4 separate regions of the Homo sapiens genome follow, and regions 1, 2 and 3 are each linked to region 4. Evidence: promoter capture Hi-C in 16 types of primary human blood cells and fetal thymus (Javierre and others, 2016). All regions are on one chromosome and are shown on one strand. Each heading gives the region's core, a stretch centred on a gene start or on the middle of the fragment in contact. The rest is flanking DNA. Distances are from core to core; before and after follow the strand shown.

Region 1 (6,480 bases), core at 46-2,545, 270 kb after region 4:
TTGGAAGTGCTGAACTCAAGAAGTGTGATATAATATACTTGTGTTGTTCAAGCCACTGAGTTTGTGGTGATTTGTTACAGCAGCAATAGGAAACAAATCCAGGGCTGGATCATTCCTTGTTCATAATTCTTTATATTATTTAGTGTGTGTGTGTGTGTGTGGGGTTGCATTTAGGATAGTCAGTAGCATCCTGGCCTCTAGCCTACAGAGACCAGTAGCATCTCCCATCATGACAACCACAAATGTCCCCAGACATTGCCAAATGTCCTCTGGGGACACAGTTGCCTCCAGTTGAGAAGCACTAGTTTAAATTTAGAAAACAAATTGGGAAGGATATATAACAAATTCGTAACAGTACCCTTTGGGATATGGGATTGGAGGAATGGCTTTCACTCCTCTTTTAACATAAAATTTTTAAAACTGGATTTTGCCTCCCCCTACAGACATTTTTTTTTTATTTTCAACTGTGGTTTTTTTTCCCATTTTATAAAAAGATTAACCTTGAAAGGTAATATCACATTTCAATTTTAGTCATTATGGATTTTACTGTGGAAGGCAGTTCTATACACCTATGGCTGCTTTTCAACCTAGTTTTATTGGATTTTGTTTGACATTGTGAATGTCCTTTTTCCCAAAGATGTGATAGACATCCATTCATTCATTCAGTGTGTATTTCTTTTTTTTTTTTGAGACGGAGTCTTGCTCTGTCGCCCAGGCTGGAGTGCAGTGGCGCAATTTCAATCTCAGCTCACTGCAAACTCCGCCTCCCGGGATCACACCATTCTCCTGCCTCAGCCTCCCGAGTAGCTGGGACTACAGGTGCCTGCCACTGCCTGGCTAATTTTTTTTTTGTATTTTTAGTAGAGACGGGGTTTCACCGTGGTCTCGATCTCCTGACCTCGTGATCCGCCTGCCTTGGCTTCCCAAACTGCTGGGATTACAGGCGTGAGCCACTGCGCCCGGCCTCAGTATGTATTTAAGTGGCAGGAAGGTGCTGAGCTTGCCGCTGGGGAGGAGTGATGACTTTAGAGCTCTCTCTCTGCCCTCATGGAACCTGCTGTCTAGCAGGGAGGAGGACGGTAGTGCTCATTGTTTGGAAGACCACAGCCTGCATTGATCGCGGGGACTTGAGCATTCGTGTCCATGGTTTGGGAGTCCCTGGCTCCCATAGTACATGTTTTATGAAGGAAACTACCAGAAATCCATGATTAGAGATGGAAAATATCAGACCAATTGGAAATTTTCCTTTGACTCTCACCTGGTCTGAGCATCTTCTGTCTTTTTGGTACAGTGAACTACTCCAGATTGAAAACATTTCTGTTTTCTCCTTGCCTGGCAAGTGAGCTCAGTGAAACATCCTATTAGCCACACTGCAGGGTTGGACATTGCCACACCAGGTCAAGGGAAAGTGGCACTATGAAGGCCTGGGCAGCACTGCTGCTTTGAGAATTACGAGGAGAAAATCTGTGCTTTACCAAAAAGTAAATTAAAGATCCTGCCTGGTATCAGCCTTGCTTGAGTGACTAGTAAAATTGCAGAATAGCTTCATAGGAAAAAACAAACCCCAGAGTAAAATGGCGAGTGGGAAGTTCCTTCCTGATTCGTATTGTTTTTCCAGTTGCAGACAGGAAACATTCAAGTGTGTTTTCAAGCCCAGAACGTTGGACACAAAGAAGGCTCTGACAAAGCAGAAAAAACCCATATACAAAAAGTTTAGGAACATGGAGCAAAATGTCTGATTCAAAACAATCTAGGCTGGGCGCAGTGGCTCACGCCTAGCACTTTGGGAGTTGGAGGCGGGAGGATGGCTTGAGCTCAGGAGTTTGAGACCAGCCTGGGCAATGTAGTGAGAATCCATCTCTATAAAAAAAATTTTAAAAATTACCTGGGCATGATGGTGCGCATCTCTCGTCCCAGCTACTTGGAAGGCTGAGGTGGGAGGATAGCTTGAACCTAGGAGTTCAAGGCTGCTGTGAGCTGTGATCAGGCCACTGCACTCAGCATGGGAGGTAGAGCAAAACCTTGTCTTAAAAAAAAAAAAATCTGGCCGCGTACGGTGGCTCATGCCTATAATCCCAGCACTCTGGGAGACCAAGGCAGCCAGATCGCTTGAGCTCAGGAATTTGAGACCAGCCTGGCCAACATGGTGAAACCCTGTCTCTACTAAAAATAGAAAAATTAGCTGAGCGTGGTGGTGTATGCCTGTAGTCTCAGCTACCTGGTAGGCTGAGGTGGGAGTATCACTAGAGCCCAAGAAGCAGAGATTGCAGTGATCTGAGATTGTGGCACTGCACTCCAGCCTGGGTGACAGAACGAGACCCTGTCTCAAAAAAAAAAAAAAAAAAAAAAAAAATATATATATATATATATATATATATATATATGATTTATCAAGTATTATTTTTTATGATTGGATCACTTTGTCTACTGTTTTTTTTTTGTCTATAGATGTCTTGACGAATTCAGTCTCTTGCCCCCTGCCTTGCTTTAATAAATTACAAAAACTCAACCAAAGATAACACTTCTCAGAAAAAACCAGCACATTTCTGTGGCCTACGTACATGGCCTATTGAATGGCCTATTGAATGGGCACCTTGGCCGATAGTGGAATAATTGCTGGACTTTCCATATCTCTGGTAAAGGTGAACACTGCAAAACAGTTCACGATAGGAAGCACCAAGGCTTGGACCAGTCACAGTGATGAGGGAGATCAGGTCATTTGGACCACATTATTGGAATAGATGGAGACAGTACCAAGGCCTGAAAATTAAGATGGAGAGTCCACAGGCCAGCAAAGAATCTTTGTGTGAGGGAGCCATTCCAGTTTGTGTATTATACTCCATAGTCATGATTTGTCACTTAAAAGTAATTCTTCCCAATTATAGATCACTTTTAATCTCTAGTTGGGTTTGGATTTTTTTCTACACATTTTTTTTTTGTTTTTTTGAGACAGAGTCTTGCTCTGTTGCCTAGTCTGGAGTGCAGTGGCACGATCTTGGCTCACTGCAACCTCCGCCTCCCAGGTTCAAGCAATTCTCGTGCCTCAACCTCCCAGGTAGCTGGGACTACAGGTGTGTGGCACCACATCTGGCTAATTTTTGTATTTTTAGTAGAGATGAGGTTTTGCCATGTTGACCAGGCTGGTCTTGAACTTCTGACCTCAAGTGATCCACCCACCTTGGCTTCCCAAAGTGCTGGGATTATAGGCGTGAGCCACCACCCCCAACCTCTAAAATTGATTTAAAAAAAAAAAATCTAAGCCTGCAAATCTAAAATTGATTTTATTAATGTAATATATATATAGCCTCCACAAACACAGGAAACAAAGGGGAAATTTCTTTTTAAACAGTACATTAACATTTTCATATAATATATTCAATATAGTTTTCAGCCTCCAGACCTTTTCATGTAAAGTACCTCTAAAGCAGAGGGTCCAGTTAATTTGAAAAAAATGGCTGGAAATACACTGATTTTCTTTACATTTTAGATACTCTGAGGTATGTTTTCTGTTGTGCATTTGTAGAGCTTGACATTGGACCAATTCTTTAAGTTAGGCACACTTCACCCCTGGCCATATCAATCAAGCATGCTACTTAAAAGTGTAAGTAACATGCTATTTTTAAAAAACCTCAAAACTGTGATTCATGTAGTTTAAAAAGTCAAATAATATAGTAAAAGACTTACCACAAAATACGGTGGGTTCACTCCCTACTCTCTGAGATTTCCCAACTCCAGAAGCAACTACTTTGAAATATTAACAGTTTATTGTGACATTTATTCATATTCATAATTATAAGTAATATGTGTAAACTATCGTTTGGGTTATCAAATTAGTTACTGTCTGTTGACTTTCTGTTCTGATAAATGAGGGTTTAGGGCCCTTTCCCTCTGCTTCTGCTCCCCCCATCCTTTCAATACAGTTATAATTTTTCATTGTATTACTATTTGATATTTATATTATGTCCAATCAATTATTTGCAGCTGAGCATACTAGTTACTATGACTATCTTTATGTTTCCAGTGGACTTTTTGTTTTTCCTGAAGTTAATACTTGCCTCGTTTTTATGTTTGCTTTATTTTCTTTGTGGCTGTTGCAGCACTGTGCTCATAACTGTTTAACAACTGCCAAGCTCCTATTTGAATTGTTTGCAGTTGTTTATGTTTTTGATTTCAAGTACCAGTGTGAGGTTACTGAGCAAGGAGTTGGGAGAAGATGCACATGGTTGGTTGGTCTGAGTTGGCTCTAGCATACCTCTGAGCTATTACTAACTTTCCCACATCTGCTTATAGCCCACATTGGGATTGTAGAGCAAGTTCTTCTCTTCTTCTGTTATTTTTTAAAAAATAATTTGCTCTGAAAAAGGACATATTTGTTCTGATTCTCAGGTTGAATCTCTTTTTTTGAACTTGTGAAAATTTTAATAGGCCTTGAGACTTCTCTGTGTATACTCGTACTTACAGAAGGAAGTCATTTTAGAGTTGAGGTGGATTCTGTGAGAGGTATACAGGGCCCTGTCCAGATTTGGGGGTTTTGGCTAGGGAAGAAAGGCAAAAGTTACCCATTCCCTGGTGGCATTTTGCTAAAGGAGGGATGAGGCATTGGCGAGAGGAATGGGGGCGTCTAATGGTGAAACTATGACGATCTCATGCCAGGTGTGTTCTTGCTAGGCTGACTGTCAGGTTTCTTTTTGAGTCTGGTTCTTTGACCTCATGGTCAGCTGGGGCCCTGCTTCCCTTCCCTAACTGGTATGACTACCTGTGTTTGGCTCTTCAGCAATGCCTGGCACCTTGCTTGCCAAGCAAGGTCTAGGGTAGCATATGTTGGCCTGTTGCTGGTGGAACCTTTTCATAGAGTTGAAAATTGGCTGCCTCTGGAAGCTGGGGCCTTGGCTTTGTCTCTAGGCCCTGATCCTCTGGCCCTGGGAAGTATTTGAGTCAGGTCAGCATTCCAGTTTCCTGCAGAAACTGGTGAGTGAGCCACCCTGTAGGCATCTCCAGGTTGACTGGGACAGTGCCATGATGACAAGTGTTAGAATCCCCCATGGCAATGCCCTGTTCTGGCTAACGTGCCATTGCCTTAAGTGTAGACTGGAGGAGCTGTGCGCTTCTTTCCCTTGCCCACAGTTGGCACTACTCTGAGCTTAGCAGCATTTCGAGGTCATTCTAGGGGTCTCATTTACTTTCTGGCCCAAGAGCTTTTCCTGCTCTTGCATTGGTTCCCGGCCAAGATCATACAATCCCTGTTCTGAATTTCCGGTTCATTGACAGCCTTCCCCTGACTCCCTTCACTGTTCAGAGCTGAAACATACTTTTTCTTTCTCTTTTAAAAATTTCCTTCACGCCAGGCGCGGTGGCTCACGCATGTAATCCCAGCACTTTGGGAGGCCAAGGTGGGCGGATTACTTGAGGTCAGGAGTTCGGGACCAGCCTGGCCAACATGGCAAAACCCTGTCTCTTCTAAAAATACAAAAATTAGCTGGGCGAAGTGGCACGTGCCTATAATTCCAGCTACTCGGGAGGCTAAGGCACGAGAATCGCTTGAATCCGGGAGGTGGAGGTTGCAGTGAGCTGAGATCACACCACTGCAGTCCAGTCTGGGCAACAGAATGAGACTCTGTCTCAAATAATAATAATAATAATAATAAAATAAAAATTATTATGGTCTGACAGTTGAGACTCCGCCAGCTCGGAATGCCCCCTTCTGATTGCTGGCCACCGTGTTGGTTTAATGGAAGGGTTGATGAAATTAGTAGTAGTTCAAAGCATAGCAGAGAAAGTTGTGGAAACACTTAGTTTCTTTTCAAAGTAAGGATGGAGAGGAAATTTGAAGGAGGAACTAATTGTTATTGTGTGTGGTGGTCTAGGCTTGCATCTTTGCATAACGTTTCTGGTTGTGAACTGAAGTTTAAGCTTCTGTAGAACAGTGTTTTCTCAAAGCCATGTCTCTAGACCTCCTGCAATGGAATTCTGAGCAAGGAGTGGCTGTTAAAAATGCAGGGTCTATTGAATTAGAATAGAATATCCAGAGGGACCTGGGAAATGGCATTTTATATCAGCACCTGCTGCCCTTGGTGATTCTGTGCCTGCTCAAATTTGAGAACCACTACTCAGGATCATTTGTTCTTGTTTTGGGCTGCTATTCCCCACAAAGTTTTGCTTAGTTATTTTTCTTTGGTTTTGCTTAAATTGCTCTCTGATGTAAAAATTGGTAAACTGCCCCTGCCAACCCTTCTAAATTTATTTCTGCCTGTTTTGCTTTAAACTCCAGGCTAATAATTATTAAATTTTAGGAGTTGCCTTTCATTTTTGGATTTCTAACTCTGAATTTTTAATTTTTCCCACAGAGCTGAGAAAACAGAAGTCCTTAGTGAAGATCTATTACAGGTAACAAAATATAGTCTCCTTTAAATGATCTGTTTAAAGGATGGAAAAAAATTCCTATGTGAGAATTGAGGCCTGTGGGCTTTTTTTTTTTTTTTT
Region 2 (5,924 bases), core at 876-3,375, 450 kb before region 4:
CAGTGCCTCAAGCCTCACACCCCGCTGGCAACAGAAACCGCTTGATGGATGTGTGCACGACCCCTAAGAACTAATGAGCTACATCGAGTCTTCAGCAAAGACTTCCAGGACAAAGATGACAAGCTTCTCCACCTATACTTGGGGAAAGAGAATCAGGCTAGCACCCACTTTACAGCCACAAGGAGAGAAGTTTTGAGAACTCAGTCAACCATCTGAGCGGCGACAGAGAATCCAGAAGCAGAGATCTGGTGACATTGTTTAAACACTAATTAAGCCAAAAAAAAAAAAAAGATATCCCCAATTCCTGGGACTTCTCAGATACATGAGCCATTAAATTCCTTTTTGATTTATGCTCGGTTCAGATTTTACCTTGGATTTCTGTGTTATAACCAGAGGAATTCTAGCCAATAGAGTTCTGGAGCTGAAATGAAGTTTTGAACCACCACTGAAAATGATTATCCTTAAAGATGTTCTAACATATTGTGATTTGGGGCAATTTCTTCCTCCTAGTGGATGAAAAATGGAAGGATGGGAAAAGGGAATCCCAGGAAAATTGAAAAGTCCCAAGGCCAAGAGTTGAAGGTAAACTAAAAGAAGGAAGGAACTTTTGACACAGATACACAGGCTAGTGAGAACCCATAAATACAGAAGAAACTCATTGTTTTGTTCTAAATGAGGAAATCCATGGTTCTCATTGAGGTCAAGAGGTTTCTTGGTTGAAATCAACATGCAATTTTCAAATTCTAAATGGGTAATGTAGCAATTTAATATATGGCATATGTGTTATAATAATATTTCTTAATATTAATTGCTTTAAGATATACTTATGGCAACATGGCATTTTCATTTTTGTCCATATTTAGATAGTCATAAGAATGCTAAGAAGGAAAGAAAAATTCCACCTGCCAAGATTTTTTCTATATCTGAACACAAATGAAGAAATTGGTTCAGAATGGGGAAGAGAAAAAACAAATACACAACTGTATTCCAGTATGTTTTAAACACGGCTTTACACATCTGTTTTGATACTTGCTTATTGTTTACTGAAAGTGAATATTTTATAAAGCCTCTTATTTTATGATATAAGAACAAAATATGCAGGGTTAATCCAGATTGGAAGGAGCAAGGAGCCACTCGTTTTGTATCTCAGGAAATGCCTGACTTTGGACCCAACCTGTGTCCCACAATCACCACCTGGTGGCAGCATACTTAAATAGCAGGGATAGCTGAGTGTTACATAAACATCTTTTAAATTTTGACCCCAGCAACATTAAGGTCATTTTGTGGTACCGGATCAATGACTAGATCCTCTCTCCAGAATAGGGGAATTAAAAAACAGGAAATTAGGATACCAGAAACCTGGGTGGGTGTGGAGTAACTATGGAATACAGGCATATGTCAATGATGACACTGTTCACCAGCATTTTCCAATAAGTGATGCTCTTACCACTAGCAGGTGAGTCCAGGTGGTACAAGAAAAAGCCACCCTGAGGATAAGATGATTGAGCAGAGACCCGAATGAAGGGAGGACATAAGACATGCAATTATCTAATGCAAAGAAACATTGTAAGTGGTGGAAGCAGCAAGTGCAAAGGCCCTGGGGCAGGGCCATGTTTGACTTCTCAGGTACAGCAAGGAGGCTAGCAAAGCTCAAGCAGAGGAACAAAGAAAATAAGGCAACTGAATGTGGCTAAAGCAGTGAATAGGGGTCAGATCCTTGCCTTTTCTCCAGTTTCTAGAAGCTGCCCACATTGGCTTGTAGCCTCTTCCTCTATTGCCAAAGCCAGCAACAGTGATTGAGTCCTTCTCATACTACCTTCTGGTTCTCTCTCTGCCTCCCTCTTCCATTTACAATAGTGCCCCCTCATCTACAGAGGATATGCTCCAAGACCCCCAGTGACTTCCTAAAACCATCAATAATACAAAACCCTATAGATATTATGTTATTTCCTATACATACATAGCTATGATAAAGTTAAATTTATAAATTAGGTACAGTAAGAGATTAACAACTCATAATAAGATAGAATTATAACAATATATTATAATAAAAGTTACGTGATTATGGTCTCTCTCTCAAAATATTTTATTTTACTATTCTTACCCTTTCTAAATTGAAAAGTTTTGCCTTTTCACTTAAAAGAAGCACTTCATGGGTTCTCTTTGGGCATATCTGAATTACCAGCATCACTACTCTTGCACTCTGGGGCCATCATTAAGTAAAGTAAAGGTTACTCACACATAAGCACTGAGATACCACGACAGTCAATCTGATAACCAAGACAGCTGCTGAGTGACTCAAGGATGGGTAGAGTCTACAGGGTGGACATGCTGGACAAAGGGATAATTCACATCCTGGGTGGCACAGAGCAGGACAGCGCAAGATGTCACCACACTACTCAGAATGATGAGCAACTTAAAACCTATGAACATTTATTTCTGAAATTTCCCATTAATATTTTCAGAGCACAGTTAACCATGGGTAACTGAAACCTCAGAAAGTGAAACTGCGGATAAGAGAAGCCTTCTGTATACAATTCCTTGGAATTACATTGGCTCCAACCAAATAATTCAGGACAATCTCCCATTTAAAGTCAGTTGGTTCATAATCTTCATTCCATCTGCAACCTAATTCCCCTTTGCCAGCTAATCTAACATATTTGCAGGTTCCAGGGATTAGGATGCAGGCATTTCAGGGAGGTCATTATTCTGTCTAGCACAGAGGGTTAGAAAGCAGGTTAGGCCACCGCACGTTCTCATTCATAAGTGGGAGCCGAACAGTGAGAACACATGGACACAGGGAGGGGAACATCACACACCAGGGCCTGTCGGGGGGTGGGGAGCTAGGGGACGGAGAGCATTAGGACAAATACCTAATGCATGCCGGGCTTAAAACCTAGATGACGGGTTGATAGGTGCAGCAAACCACCATGGCACATGTTCTGCACATGTATCCCAGAACTTAAAGTAAAATTAAAAAATATATATATTAAAAAAGATTTAAAAAGAAAGCATGTTAGGCAGACAACTAGAAGGTGGAAAGTTAATACACCAACCTGGGAAACACAGCCTGAAAAGAGAGGATAGGTCAATTGAGAACCAAATGACAGAATCTTCTGGTCACTCCCAAAGCTCAACAACTGCAGGGCAGTTTTAAGAAGCAAGTGTGACCCGTAGCTCCGTAGGTTTTTATGTTGTTTCGGTATTTTAAAAATGACGTAACAATGATGAATCCGGTGAAACAGTTACACAGTCTGAGATTGTCCAGGAATTCCCCAGATCTTTACGCAGTCTGCCCTGAGAACGTTTGATATCCATGCTATAAAATAGTTTCTGTAAATTAAACCTCTTAATCTAACTTTATAAGAGTGCTTGTCCTGTATTTCAGGTACTCCCTGGACTGCAACATTCCAGGAAACCAATAACCTGGGGGAATTCATGAAAACGTGCATGGATTAATAACAACTAACATATGTAGACTAAGTCGATCCCAACACACAGTCACTATTCTACCCTTGCAAAATCACTGTGGAGTTAGTAGAGGTTGTTATTCCCATTTTAGAGATGAGAAAACAAAGGCTCTACACACCAATCTATGCACACAAAACAAGTCCCACAAGGTGCAGAACTCAGACTCAAATCCTTAATTTCTGATTCCACCTTCAGCTTCCTTTTCTTTCTTTTATTCAATTATTTTTATTTTTATTTTTTTTTGGGATGGAAACTGGCTTCATCACCAGGCTGGAGTGTAGTGGTGCGATCTCAGCTCACTGCAACCTCCGCCTCTGGGTTCAAGCAATTTTCCTACTTCAACCTCCTGAGTAGCTGGGACTACAGGTGCGTGCCACCACGCCTAGCTAATTTTTTGTATTTTTAGTAGAGATGGGGTTTCACCGTGTTAGCCAGGGTGGTCTCGACCTCCTGACCTTGTGGTCTGCCTGCCTCGGCCTCCCAAAGTGCTGGGATTACAGGCGTGAGCCACCGCAGCCAGCCCAGCTTCCTTTTCAAAATACCACAGAGCTCCAAGCAATCAAACTGTCCTATGACAGAGGTGCCCACGTAGTTTGACTCAAATATTTCCTCATCTCCAGGGGCTCCCAAATCTCTAACCCTCTGCAGAAGCTTTAACCTGGAGGGAATGGTGTGCGGACACCTCTAGGAGGTAACAAAAGTCAAACAGGGGGCCCCCGTGTCATGGCCTGATTATTATATGGCAATTAGGTAATTTTGATAATACATCCAGAGAAAGACAATCCAACTACTCATGGAGCATAATGATCTATCAGTAATAATCCGTGCTCATCTCCTACAACTGTGCTACAGCAACAGAGGCCAGGAATAGTAGGAAGGCACCCAGGGCCGGGTGCGGTGGCTCACAGGTAATCCCAGCACCTCGGCAAGCCTCAGCTGTAGGATTACTTGAGTGCAGGAGTTTGAGACTAGCCTGGGCAACCAACAGAGCAAGATGTCTTCTCTACAATTTTTTTTTTTTTTTTTGAGATGGAGTTTTGCTCTTGTTGCCCAGGCTGGAGTGTGATGGCATGATCTCAGCTCACTGCAACCTCTGCCTTCTGGGTTCAAGCGATTCTCCTGCCTCAGCCTCCCCAGTAGCTGGGATTACAGGTGCCTGTCACCACGCTTGGCTAATTTTTTGTGTTTTTAGTAGAGACGGGGTTTCACCATGTTGGCCAGGCTGGTCTCGAACTCCTGACCTCAGGTGATCCACCTGCCTCGGCCTCCCAAAGCAATTTTTTTAAAAATTAGCCAGGCACAGTGGAGCACCTATATAGTCCAGCTACTAGAGGCAGGAGATCACTTGAGCCCAGGAGTTCAAAGCTGCTGTGAGCTATGATCATGCCACTGTACTCCAGGCTGGGCAACAGAGCGAGACACCATCTCTAAAAATAAATAAATAAGACATCCAGCTCAGGACATCCTGCTATGGGAGCTCAGGAATGTCACTTGCCCTTCCAAAGTCTCAATCTCTCTATCTGTAAGAAAACATCTACTTCATGAGGCCACTGTGAGGAATAAATGAAATAATGTTGTGTGCTATAGGAACCTTTGGGGGAGACTAGCTAGCCCACACAGCTTATTTGAGTGGGTTTCTCTTTCTGCACCCAAAATAGGCTTGCAAAAAAAGAGTATGTGAAAAAGCTGAGAACAATTCTTAGCTACACTTCCCAAGAAATGTGAGGGTTCTTTCTTTCCAGAAGCCTGGAGTATCGTACATACAAGGTCCTCTTTTTGTTCATGAATTCACTGATTTATCATTGGTGATTAATAAATCACCATGCATTGAGCATCTACTATCTGCCAGGCACTGTTCTGGGCTCTGGCTTGAAACAAAATGGACAAGATCGATTTCTGGTCCTATGCAGTTTACCTTCTAGTGAGGGGGAGATAAGTAATGAGGATAACTTTGGAGAGCAATAGATGTGCTGGAGAAAATAAAACAGCATAACAAGCTCAGAAGTGGAAGAAGTTATTTAAATTAGGTAGTCAGGAAAGGCCTTTTAGAGGAGCTGAAATTTCAGCCAACACCTAAAGGAAAGATAAGGAGATACCAGTAGTTTAGGGATCTAGGGACAGAATATTCCAGGAGGAGGGAAAAGAGAATAAAATGGCCCTAAAGGGGGAATGAGCTTGGCATAGTCCCTGAACAGAAAGAAAACCACTTCCACTGTTTACTGTGAGGGCAAGACTCCTGCAGCAGCCTGTCCATCTGCACACTGGAACTAAAAGCAGGGAAATGCTGAAGCTTATTATTTACTCCCATGAGGCTGGAAGACACCACTTCCAGTGGAAATGAACTCTGAGACAAATAAAGGTAAGAACGTATGCTTGAGGCCATACACCTAGGTTTGAATCCCAACTCCACAGTTTGAGCGAGTGACTTACCAGCACTGTGCCTCAGTTCCCTC
Region 3 (6,029 bases), core at 3,405-5,904, 260 kb after region 4:
CATGACATGATGAATATCACATTTCACCATCACCTTAGTTGCATTAGATATTGTCCTTAAAAAATTTGTTATCTATTTAAATTTTTTCCACTAAGTTCAAAATGAATGTGTTCTTACATTTGTATTTCTTTATATGAGTTTTCTCTGTATGTGTCATTTGTTTGTCATGGAATTAACGTTTAGTTATCAGTTTCATTGCTCAGTTACCAATTTAGTTCAACAAATGTCTCTTGAGAACCTGTCAAATGATAGGGGCTGGGGTTAAAAATATAATTGATCCCTGGGGACTTGAATGTGGAGACAGAGCTACAAACAGATAATCTGAATGTAACCAGTTTTATCTATTCTAGCAGATCTTAGGTGCTGTTAATGAAATCTTAATGCCATTCTTTGATGTATTTATGTACTTTAATATAAACAAGTTAGCATTCTTGTTCATAGATATGTTCCTCAACAGATACAGTGATGAAACCTTGCACATTCATGACTAGGTACAGATTTAATACAAGTTTCAGAAGATAAAGCTGATTCTATAAAAAATCTAAGATTTCTATAAGAAACTGTCTTTTAAATAGGTAGAGCCTATTATTTATAGCAAATAAAATAATAGGCATGTTTGATATAAAAACAATATTCAGGCTGGGTATGGTGGCTCACGCCTGTAATCCCAGCACTTTGGGAGGCCAAGGCGGGTGGATCTCCTGAGGTCACGAGTTTGAGACCAGCCTGACCAATATGGTAAAACCCCATCTCTACTAAAAATACGAAAATTAGCTGGGCATGGCAGGCAGGCGCCTGTAATCCCAGGTACTCAGGAGGCTGAGGCAGGAGAATGGCTTGGACCCAGGAGGCCGAGGTTGCAGTGAGCCAAGATCGCACCACTGCACTCCAGCCTGGGCAACAGAGTGAGACTCCATCTCAAAAACAAACAATATTCAGTTCATTTCAGCCATGCATCTTGTGAGACTGTGTTTCCTCTGTGTTAATTACAGCTTATTGATTATTTGCATTGGCTACTTCCTTTTGATTATCCCAAGATGTTTCTCTCTTCCTCTCCTTTCCCACAGCTCTTCTTTTTGGACGTCTTCCTTATCAGAGATACCTTTTGGTTTAGTAGTCAATTTGATCTCTCCTTTAATGTTTCATTAGCATTTCTTCTGTAGTTACTCAGTGTTCTTCCACATGGTTTGGCCAAATTTATACTTCTTAAAGAGTTTAAATTAGAAATCACAGACCAAGTAAACAGGTGCTCAAATGAATATAAATCTTAAATAAATGTACAGAAATTATTAAAAGCACCCATCAGCTGTTACCTGTCAGTGTGAATATGTATAAATCAAGCAGCTTGGATATCACGTGGTCATTGGATACTTTCACATGCCTGGGCTGGAGTGACCATTTGAAACCATGGCCAGCGGTACTTTGGGGAAATACACCGAAGTGTTTCTACTTCACCAGATACAGTGAGTGCTTGGATGGAGGGAGTGTGGGCACAGGCACAAAGCAGGGGAGTCTCTGAGATGTGCCTGGGGGTTCAGTGAGGACTCCGCTGGGCATGTAACGTGAGCAATCATTTTTAAACAAATTTTTTCATGGAGGCAGAGTCTTGCTATGTTGCCCAGGCTGGTCTCCAACTCCTGGCCTCAAACAACTCTCCCATCTTGGCCTCCCAAAGTTGTGGGATTACAGACGTGAGCCACTGTGCCTGGCCTTGAGTGATCTTAATAACTGGCAGGTGATAGAGAATTCCAAGGGTAGAGATAGTCCTAGGGGAAACCTAACACTTGAAGAGTTTATCCTTTAACTTAATATTTTTTTTTTGTTTGTAAATTGGGAAAAAGGCAACCATTATGTGATTCTTAGCAGGGGAGCAACTCTCTCCAGCTCTTCTATTTTCAAATCACTTGGGTAGTGATTGCTATTTTCTGATCCATTTGTTAAGTATTTGTAGTATTTAAATTCACAGCCCCTGGTTGCATTTCCATCCAATAGAAGGTGTAAGTTGGTTCTTCAAAGCTTTTTTTTTTTTTGAGATGGATTCTTGCTCTGTCACCCAGGGTGGAGTGCAATAGCACAGTCTCAGCTCACTGCAACCTCTGCTCCAAGGTTCAAGCGATTCTCCTGCCTCAGCCTCCTGAGTAGCTGGGATTACAGGTGTGCACTACCACTCCCGGCTAATTTTTGTATTTTTAGTAGAGACAGGGTTTCACCATGTTGGCCAGGCTGATCTGGAACTCCTGGCCTCAAGCAATCAGCCCTCCTCGGCCTCCCAAAGTGCTGGGATTACAGGTGTGAGCCACCGCACCCAGCTGGTTCTTCCAAGTTTTAAAAAGCTTTAAGGCCAGGCATGGTGGCTCATGGCTATACTCCCAGCACTTTGGGAGGCTGAGGCAGGCAGATTTGATGCCAGGCCAACACGGCGAAATCCTGTTTCTACTAAAAATGCCAAAATTAGCCAGGCATTGTGGTGCACACCTGTAATCCCAGCTACTTGGGAGGCTGAGGCACGAGAATCGCTTGAACCTGGGAAGCAGAGGTTGCAATGAGCTGAGATCCTGCCACTGCAATCCAGCCTGGGCAACAGAGTGAGACCCTGTCTCAAAAAAAAAAAAAAAAAAAAAAGCTTTAAAGCTAGCATACTCTTGTTTTATTTGCCCTGTATAAGCTGATGGAGACCTTTGCCCCAAATAGACAATTTTGTTATACATTGAATATCAAGTATCATTTCTCACAATGTAACTTATTATTTTCTCTAATTTCCATTTTACTTGTATATCTCCTGTTAGAGCCTCTTTTTTTTTTTTTTTTTTTTTTGAGACGGAGTCTCGCTCTGTTCCCCAGGCTGGAGTGCAGTGGCATAATCTCGGCTCACTGCAACCTCCGTCTCCTGGGTTCAAGCGATTCTCCTGCTTCAGCCTCCCGAGTAGCTGGGATTACAGTTGCCCACCACCACACCTGGCTAATTTTTGTATTTTTAGTAGAGAGGGAGTTTTACCATATTGGTCAGGCTGGTCTCAAACTCCTGACCTCAGGTGATCCACCTGCCTTGGCCTCCCAGAGTGCTGGGATTACAGGCGTGAGCCATCGCGCCCAGCCAGAACCAGTTTAATACTCCCATTGCTTTTGCATTTTTGTACTTGCTGGGGTTCATAATAATCCTCAAACAACCCCAACATAGCAGGACTAAAATACAGGCCATCCATGGCCTGGAGCACCAACTTTTGAGAGCCAGGCGATGTTGATTGGCTTCTGTCGTCATCTGTGGAAGTCCATCGTTAGAAAAGCTTCTGTTCCAGTTTTAGGGGGGAATGATGGTTTGAGGGCTACTGTGGTAGAACTTGGGGAACTCTTTTCGGCAAAAGGTTGAGAAAGTTGGTGCTGTGGGAAGTCAGCTGGCAGCCGATGGAGTCAGGACCAGGGAGGAAGGGAAAGGGAACCCAGATAGGAAGCTACTGCAGTAGGCTCAGAGAGGTGATGACGGCAGGGCTAAGACAGCAGCCTTGGGCGGTGACTGGGAAGAACATTGAACACCATGTTTGGGCTGAAGAAAAGAGCAAGGGAAGAGGTGAGGAGCTTCAGGTTAGGGTTGATGTAGATGTTATTTACATAGGGAACAGTAATTCTTCACTTTTTCATTGTTTTACAATGATTCCTTTTTAGAAACATATAATTGTGATATTTTCTTTGACCTTTTATTGGGCTTTCTATTCTATTCCATTGATTTATGGCTTTGGGTGTGTGTATATGTTTGCATCAACATTTTTTTTTTTTTTAGATGGAGTCTCGCTCTGTCACCCAGGCTGGAGTGCAGTGGTGCGATCTTGGTTCACTGCAACCTCTGTCTCCCAGGTTTAAGCAATTCTCCTGCCTCAGCCTCCCCAGTAGCTGGGATTATAGGTGCCCACCACCATGCCCGGCTAATTTTTGTATTTTTAGTAGAGACAGGGTTTCGCTTTGGTCAGATTGGTCTTGAACTCCTGACCTCAGGTGATCCTCCTACCTTGGTCTCCCAAAGTGCTGGGATTGCAGGCATGAGCCACTGCACCTAGCCTGCATCAGTATGGTTTAATAACTGTTGATCTGTAATATGTTTTAAATTGGGTAGAGCTGGTCTCTTACAAATACTCTTTTTCAGGCTGGGTTTGTGGCTCACGCCTGTAATCCCAGCACTTTGGAAAGCTGAGGCCGGAGGATCGCTTGAGGCCAGGAGTTCAAGGCTGCAGTGAGCTGTGGTCCTGCCACTGCACTCCAGCAAGAGACCCTGTCTCATTAAAAAATAATAATAAATATTCTTTTTTCAGTATCTCTCTTACTTTTGTATAAAGGCGAGTTTTGGCATCTCATCTTCTCTAGTTTCTAGAAAAAATTATTTAGGATTTTGATTGAGTTGGGACTCATTTATTCAAATGATGTTTATTGGGTCCCTGTTGTGGGCTAGGCTCTAAAGGTTCAAAAATAAATAAAACCCAGGTTTTTATGGCCTAATAAATCTGTGAACTAAACTTTGAGAATTGATATCTACAAGATGAGCATTGCACATGACTTTGTGTGTACAATCTTTTATATGCTTCCCAGGTATTTTTTTTTGTTTTTTAAATTGAGAATAGTGCCTATTTACTAAACTATGCAACTGATCATTTTTGTTATTTTAGGTACATAATATTATCAGTGTTGTGCTTCTATTTCTGCTTTTGCTATTTAGTTCAATGATTTCTTTTTCATCCCTTATTTAATTGGTTAGACTCCAAAATAGTGTGTAGCTGTATAAATGTTTATAGGAATATTGTGTAAAGGGCATATGATTCTACCTTTATTGGACATTTCAGGAACATGATAAGGACTATTTAAATCCTGCTAAAATACAAGTGTTGTAATATGAATTGTTCCCAATGGAAGTTTGCAAGCAACGTTCTCCTCATTTTCGAACCACACAACTTTTAGTGTGTCTGCTATTTGAGCTTTATTCTGTGTCTGTTTTGTGTCATGAGGTTGGCAGGTGATCTTAAATGCAGAATGCTGAATTTGTAGTAGTCCAACTATATGGAGAAAACAATTGCAATGCACTTTAGATTTAGGAACAAATTGGAGGAGAAAGTTGAGAAATGGTAAGAGGAGTTTTAATGGAGCGTATGTGGCAGTATGCTAATGTCACTTCTAAAGAAGAGGTGGTTAGCAGGTCACAAGGCAGTAGACTGAATTGTAGCCTCTGAATCTCAGGGCAGTCTTTAGGAATGGAAACCTTGCTGCCTGTAGATTTAGGTAGAGGTTTTAATAACCCCCCCGTTGCCAGAAAAAATCATCCACACACAGATTTGCCTATAATCTTATGGACTTCACAGACATCCTCAAGCGCATGGACAAAAACCCCAAGATTCAAGAAAAGCCGTCCACATGGTCGGCAGCTCAAGAAAGCCTGCCAGTTGTCCAAGCAATGCTTAGTTACAGTTCCCATGCTGGGAGCTGCTCTCTAGAGAAATGTTATTTGCAGATGTGCACCTCGTGCGTCTGTGTGTGTTGTTCTGCCTGTGTCCAAAATACATGCTTTTTCTAGATGGGAGCCTTTCCCCCACAAAGCAGAAATGTGTTCTGTCATGGGATTTGATGATCATCAAATTACTTTCCCTCAAGAATTGGCTTTCTTGGCGATTAGTTAATTCAGTTTTCAAAACTTTTAGATAAGGGCTTAATCAACGTAAAACTGCTTTGGGGCAGTTGCATTGTAGTAAAAAGTGTATTGGACTTGAGTCTGAGGGCTTGAGATCCTGTCTGTACTGTTTACTCGCTGTGTCTGTGACCTTGGTCCAATCAGCCACTCTGCTGTGTTCCTATACGTGAGAAACGGCTCCTGATACCACCAGGAGCAAGCTCTGCTGTGTTTAAGAAGGTGGTGTGTGCTAGGGAGGCGTCATGAGACAGTGAGGACATACAGTGTGACACAGCAGGTCAGCACTGGGGAAAATAGCCAGGTTAGCCTTCACTTCACTGCTCTATGCCAAAATACATTCCAAATGGGTTAAAGCTTTCATGTA
Region 4 (5,832 bases), core at 17-2,516:
CTTTCTATCAATCCCAGGTCTTCAGACAAACTCAACCAATTGTCAACTAGAAAATATTTAAATTTACCTATAGCCTGGAAGCCCCCACCCCCACCCCTTTGCGTTGTCCCGCCTTCCTGGACCAAACCAATGTATTTAATGTATTTGACTGATGTCTCATGCCAACCTAAAACATAAAACCAAGCTGCACCCCGACCACCTTGGGCACATGTTCTCAGGGCCTCGAGAGGGCTGTATCACAGGCTGTGGTTACTCGTATTTGGCTCACAATAAATCTCTTCAAATATTTTGCACGGTTTTACTTTTCGTCAACACTCCCTATTACCTGTAACTTCTCAGTTTCCAAGAGCTGAGAGCTTGATTTGCGAGCTACCCTCCCACTTCTCCAATTCCATGGCCACTGAATGAAGGCTGCACTGCCTGATACTCACACTTGGTCTCATGCGCTGGCTCTGCAACAACGGACAGACAAGAGTTCCTTTGGGGGAAACCAGCTTCCCAGGTGACACTGTTGCCTCTGCTACATGCGCAAAGCGCAGCCTGGCACATAGTAGGTGCTCAAGAGAGGGAAAGCCGGGTCTATGAATTCAGGGACAGGGGCAGCACCAGAAGAGAGCAAGCTGGGGCCTGGCTGGCTGAACCCTGGCCCCGAGACCCCTGTGACCCCCCTTCTCATCAGGATGCACCACATGAACCTCCCCAACGCGAGGGCCAACAAGTGGCCCCAGATGAGACCGCGCCGGGAAGGGCCTGGGGCCACGCACAGATACTTCCGCCAGAAAAACACCACGCCGCGCCGTGCACCTCCGCCAGAGGAAGAAGGTCCCGCAGGGTCGGGGTAACCGCTCCATCCCCGACCGCAACCCTGGACCAGGTACAAGGAACAGATCCCTCCACCGGAACGCCGTGTCCCTCCGCCAGACACAGGAGTCCCCGCTCCCGTGCTCTCCTTCCCCGGCAGCCAGGCCCCGGTGCCGACTCCTCCGCCTCAGGGAGGCCCCGCCGCCGCCTAGATTCTCCGCCTGAAGCGGGACTCGCGACGGCAGGTTCCCTAGAATCCCTCTGTGTCCCTCCGCCCCGGGGAGGACCCTCCGCGCCCCTCTACAATCTTAAAGTCCCTCAGCGACGAGTCACCGCGCCGCGCGCTCTCGCGAGAGTCCACCGCACGGCCCCCCCCCCCTCCCCCAGCCCCTCGCCCGCCAGGACGCCTCGCGCGGGCCCCGCGGCGCTCGGTGGCAGGCGGCGCATGCGTGACTGCGGTTCCCAGCGCCCCCCGCGCTCTCCGCGGGCCGAGTGGACGAGGCCGAACGCGAGCAGCCTGCCGCTGCCCCCTGCGAGCCCTGGCTTCGCCCCGCAGCTCTTCTCCCTTCCGGGCGGAACAGTTTTTGCGGCCTTTCCTCGGCGGCAGCGGTTTCCTCAGGACGGTCGGGGCCGTCGTGGGCCCGAAAGAGCCCGGCGCCGCTCTCGGAATCCGGCGGCCCCAGCGGCACCCGCGGCGGCCTGGACGTGCTGCGGTGACCCGAGCCCGGAACCTGGCGCCGGGCGGGGCCTGCACATCCGGCCCCACCCACTCGGGGACTCGCCTCTCCGCGCCCGACCCGGGAGTAGCGGACACACCCCCTCCCGGCCCGGCTGTCCGCCTCCGCCCAGCCTTTCCTCAGCCTGCTTCATTTTTCTCCCAGTCGTCCAGCCTCCCGGTTTCCGACTTTGCACTAAGAGGGATGCACTCTGGAAAACCACATTGCGCGGTCACATCTTGTTTGGAGAAGAGGCCAGGCTTTTGCATCTTAGAGTATACGTTCACCTTTTCAAGGGCCTGGCATAGATTTGATTAATCAGCCTGGAATACCCTGTTCCTGCCGACCTGGCCGTTTTTACCTCCGTACCTTATCACACTCCCAGGAACATTAAGCAGGGAGCGCTTGGAGTCTTCTTTGGGTCCCCACCTTGAGCTAGACGTGAAGTTGACCCCTGGGCTGCAGCATGGCTGTCGCCCTCGACTCTCAGATCGACGCGCCCCTGGAGGTTGAGGGATGCCTAATAATGAAGGTGGAAAAGGACCCTGAGTGGGCATCAGAGCCCATTCTGGAAGGATCGGATAGCTCTGAGACCTTCCGCAAATGCTTCAGGCAATTCTGTTATGAGGATGTGACTGGACCCCATGAAGCTTTCAGTAAACTCTGGGAACTTTGCTGCCGGTGGCTGAAGCCAGAAATGCGTTCCAAGGAGCAAATACTTGAGCTGCTGGTGATTGAGCAGTTTCTCACCATTTTACCCGAGAAGATTCAGGCTTGGGCACAGAAGCAGTGTCCGCAAAGTGGAGAGGAAGCGGTGGCCCTGGTAGTGCATTTGGAGAAAGAGACTGGAAGACTAAGACAGCAGGTGAGAGAGGATTTTCCAAATTTTTGTACTTAGAAAAAAGGGAATGGGAAAGGCATGTGGGCAGGGATGTATTGCAGAAAGACGTGCTCTTCAGAGAAAGATAAATGGTACTAATAAAAGACCCTATAAGGGGGTCTTTTCACTTTAAGTGAATCCACTTAAAAGGGGATCAGAATTTCACATGAAATAGAAAAATAAAAGCTTTGATTGAAATATTATCTTACAATGGAAACCAGACATTATTCACCTAAGCATTTATCGTCATCTTTGGCATAATGTTTGCAACAAAACAATATAAGAGAACAATATGGTTTTGCGTCACAGAGGTTCACTTACGCATTTTGATCAAAAAAGGCTATTCTGTTCCCCCTTTAAAAAAAAAAAAAAAAGACTTCATCCGTTATCCCAGAGCCGTCTCCAAGCGTTTTACTGTTGCACTCAGTGTCTTCTGAAGTGCTCTCATGCCTTCATTTCTGTCACTCTCCTCCAGTCTAACTGCCACATCTTCATTTCTCAGTGGCTTGCATGCTCTTCTAGTTGTTCTTCAACCTCACTTTCATGAACCTCGTGAAATCCTGCAGCATTTGCAAGATTTGCGGTTTCACCTTGCATCAGACTTGCATTGTGTAGAGATCTATCAGCAGGTTGCTGTATTGGTCAGGGATAGACAGATAGATGTGGATATTAATTTTGTAAGTTTTCATTTCACTACTGTATATATTCATGTCCTGGTAACTTCTTTGCGAACGTAACAGATATAGAGTCAAATAATATCTATTCTAGCAACAAGGAGGCTCTTTCACTCCTGACAGATTTCCTTCTCTGTTTAGTATTAAATATTATTCTGGCCAGGCGCGGTGGCTCACATCTGTAATCCCAGCACTTTGGGAGGCCGAGGCATGTTGATCACCTGAGGTCAGGAATTCGAGACCAGCCTGACCAACATAATGAAACCCCATCTCTACTAAAAAAATATAAAATTAGCCGGTTGTGTTGGTGCATGCCTGTAATCCCAGCTACTTGGGAGGCTGAGAGAGGAGAATCGCTTGAACCTGGGAGGTGGAGGTTGCAGTGAGCCAAGATCGTGCCATTGCACTCCAGCCTGGGCAACAAAAGTGAAACTCTGTCTCAGAAAAAAGAACACTGTTCTGTTACCTTACACCCAGACTGCTGGACAGTACTCTCAGCCCAGCGCTCTCAGAGACTCCACTGGGAATGGAGTGGAATTTTCATTCCTTCTCATGTCTCTGTCCTTCTTTGATGTCTTTCCTGGGAGAATTTCGCCCTGATATGGGCCTGTTTTACTCCCTCTTATGGTATTGACTTCATTTCTCAGGTCAGCAGTCCCGTGCACCGGGAGAAGCACTCCCCACTTGGAGCAGCGTGGGAGGTGGCAGACTTCCAGCCAGAGCAGGTGGAGACCCAACCCAGGGCGGTGTCTCGGGAGGAACCTGGAAGCCTCCACTCAGGACACCAGGAACAGCTGAACCGAAAGCGAGAACGTCGGCCCTTACCCAAGAATGGTAAGAGGGAAGACTCGGAGCACGCCTAGTGCAGAGGCTGGGGCAGATTTCCGCAGTACCCCAACGCTGTGAATGTGCAGTGGAGGGCCTCCTTGATACATATTCAGAATAGGAGAAAGGTTTCATTCACTTCAAGAATTAGGAACATGTGCAATATAAGTGAAAAGGTATCATAAAGATGGAAACTGAGTCTGGGCAACATGGGAAAACCCAGTCTCTACAAAATCGCAAAAAAAAAAAAAATATTAGCCAGGTGTGTTGGCGTGCACCTGTGGTCTCAGCTACTCAGGAGGCTGAGTCAGGAGGATTGCTTGAACCCAGGAGGTTGAGGCTGCAGTAAGCCGTGATCACACCACTGTATTCCAGCCTGGGTGACAGAGCGAGACCCTGTCTCAAAAAAAAAAAAAAAAAGATCCAAACTGGGGAAACTTAGATTGCCTGGGCCAGCTATGAGATCCTGTGGTGGTAAACTCTCCATGGCTGGACACAGTGACTCACGTCGTAATCCCAACACTTTGGGAGGCCGAGGCAGGCGGATCTCTTGAAGCCAGGAGTTCAAGACCAGCCTGGGCAAGATAGCGAGACAAACACATTTTCTCTACAAAAAAATAAAATAAGATCTACATTCTACAATCATCATGTGTTTTTCAGTCCTGCCATGTGTATGTGCTCTTGGCTGACTATAAATAAGTCAAAAAGCTGTTTGAAAGGGAACAAGGCATTTGTGTTCAAAGTTTGACTCACAGGCCATCACAGAAGTGGCATACAAGAGAGATAAACAGTTAAGATTTCACAGGGAAGGGACCACTGACATTCATAGCTGCCCTGCACATTAATGACTCAGGTCAAATGCTAGGAAATGAATACCCTGTCCTTCCCAGTCCACAGTGATCTCTCCATCTCCTGAAGTGTGGCTTCATCTCAGTCTTAAAGAGAGGAATGGAAACATCACTAAACCTGCCGTCAGAAGTCTTCTGTTTATATCTTGTCTCTGCCACCTTCTGTCTGTGATCTTGGGCAAATAATATGAAAAGACGCATGAATGCACAGAGGCTAAGAGCTTAGGCTTTAGAGACAGACAGACCTAGATTCAAAACCTAGCTCTGCCATTTTTTTATCTATGTGGCCTTGGTCAGGATACTTAACTTCTCAAGCTTTCCATTCTCTCATCTTTATTTTATTTTATTTTATTTTATTTTTTCTTTGAGGTGGAGTCTTGTTCCAGGTTAGCGTGCAGTGGCACGATCTCAGCTCACAGCAACCTCCGCCTCCCAGGTTCCAGCAATTCTCGTGCCTCAGTCTCTCGAGTAGCTGGGATTACAGGCGTGTGCCATCATGCCTGGCTAATTTTTGTATTTTTAGTAGAGATGGGGTTTCACCATGTTGACCAGGCTGGTCTTGAACTCCTCACGTTAGGTGATCTGCCCGCCTTGGCCTCCCAAAGTGCTGGGATTACAGGCGTGAGCCACCACACCCAGTCCTCTCATCTTTAAGAGGGAAATAGCAAGGCTATTTGTGCAGATTAAATGCGGCAGCATGAAGGAGCCAGTGCATAATAGTGCTCAATAAATGCTAGTTTCCTTTCCCCCAGAATGGCACAATTATTTTTAAACCTCAAGTCTGTCTGATTTACCCAGCCCTTCACTGAGAGGCAAGATTCAGTACTACTATACTGTTTTATGCCTCCCCAAATTTATATTATGATGGAATGCATTGCAAATGTCCATGATTGAGAGAGACAGAGAGAGAGAGAGAGAGAGAGAGAGGAAGGGAGAAAAGGGAAGGGAGGGGGAAAGGAAGGCTGGGGAAGGGAAAGGGGGTAGGGAAGGAGGGAAGGTACCACAGCCATAGTCTCACACTGAGACATGAGCGGGACCTGAGCATTGGCATTGGCAGTGCCCTTTCAATCAGATGTGTGCTCTCCAGT

What was found. Contacts are between HindIII fragments. The CHiCAGO score rates a contact against its expected background, and 5 or more counts as called.
Region 1: a contact is called between a fragment that was not itself captured here and the fragment with the promoter of ZKSCAN2 in region 4, in 1 of 17 cell types (monocytes). The highest score is 5.0, in monocytes.
Region 2: a fragment that was not itself captured here is called in contact with the fragment with the promoter of ZKSCAN2 in region 4 in 1 of 17 cell types (M2 macrophages); the score reaches 5.5 in M2 macrophages.
Region 3: a contact is called between a fragment that was not itself captured here and the fragment with the promoter of ZKSCAN2 in region 4, in 1 of 17 cell types (monocytes). The highest score is 5.2, in monocytes.

Annotation. Positions count from the first base shown.
Region 1 is chr16:24,978,870-24,985,349 of GRCh38, reverse strand. It overlaps ARHGAP17 (Rho GTPase activating protein 17), which reads left to right. Exons shown (of 20, transcript NM_001006634.3): 2 at 6,345-6,384. Among named protein-coding and RNA genes, the nearest start is that of ARHGAP17, 33 kb to the left of the region's middle. The HindIII fragment of the contact is 9,234 bases long and covers 1-5,912 here.
Region 2 is chr16:25,703,453-25,709,376 of GRCh38, reverse strand. The region is part of intron 1 of HS3ST4 (heparan sulfate-glucosamine 3-sulfotransferase 4); the gene reads right to left. Among named protein-coding and RNA genes, the nearest start is that of HS3ST4, 14 kb to the right of the region's middle. The HindIII fragment of the contact is 3,999 bases long and covers 126-4,124 here.
Region 3 is chr16:24,999,824-25,005,852 of GRCh38, reverse strand. The region is part of intron 1 of ARHGAP17 (Rho GTPase activating protein 17); the gene reads left to right. Among named protein-coding and RNA genes, the nearest start is that of ARHGAP17, 13 kb to the left of the region's middle. The HindIII fragment of the contact is 2,735 bases long and covers 3,287-6,021 here.
Region 4 is chr16:25,253,279-25,259,110 of GRCh38, reverse strand. It overlaps ZKSCAN2 (zinc finger with KRAB and SCAN domains 2), which reads left to right and starts at 1,266. Exons shown (of 7, transcript NM_001012981.5): 1 at 1,266-2,382; 2 at 3,719-3,905. The coding sequence starts at 1,984. It overlaps ZKSCAN2-DT (ZKSCAN2 divergent transcript), which reads right to left and starts at 1,534. Exons shown (of 1, transcript NR_170220.1): 1 at 1-1,534. RefSeq lists enhancers at 405-484, 605-924, 1,340-1,900 and silencers at 1,135-1,334, 1,415-1,654. The HindIII fragment of the contact is 3,031 bases long and covers 1-2,169 here.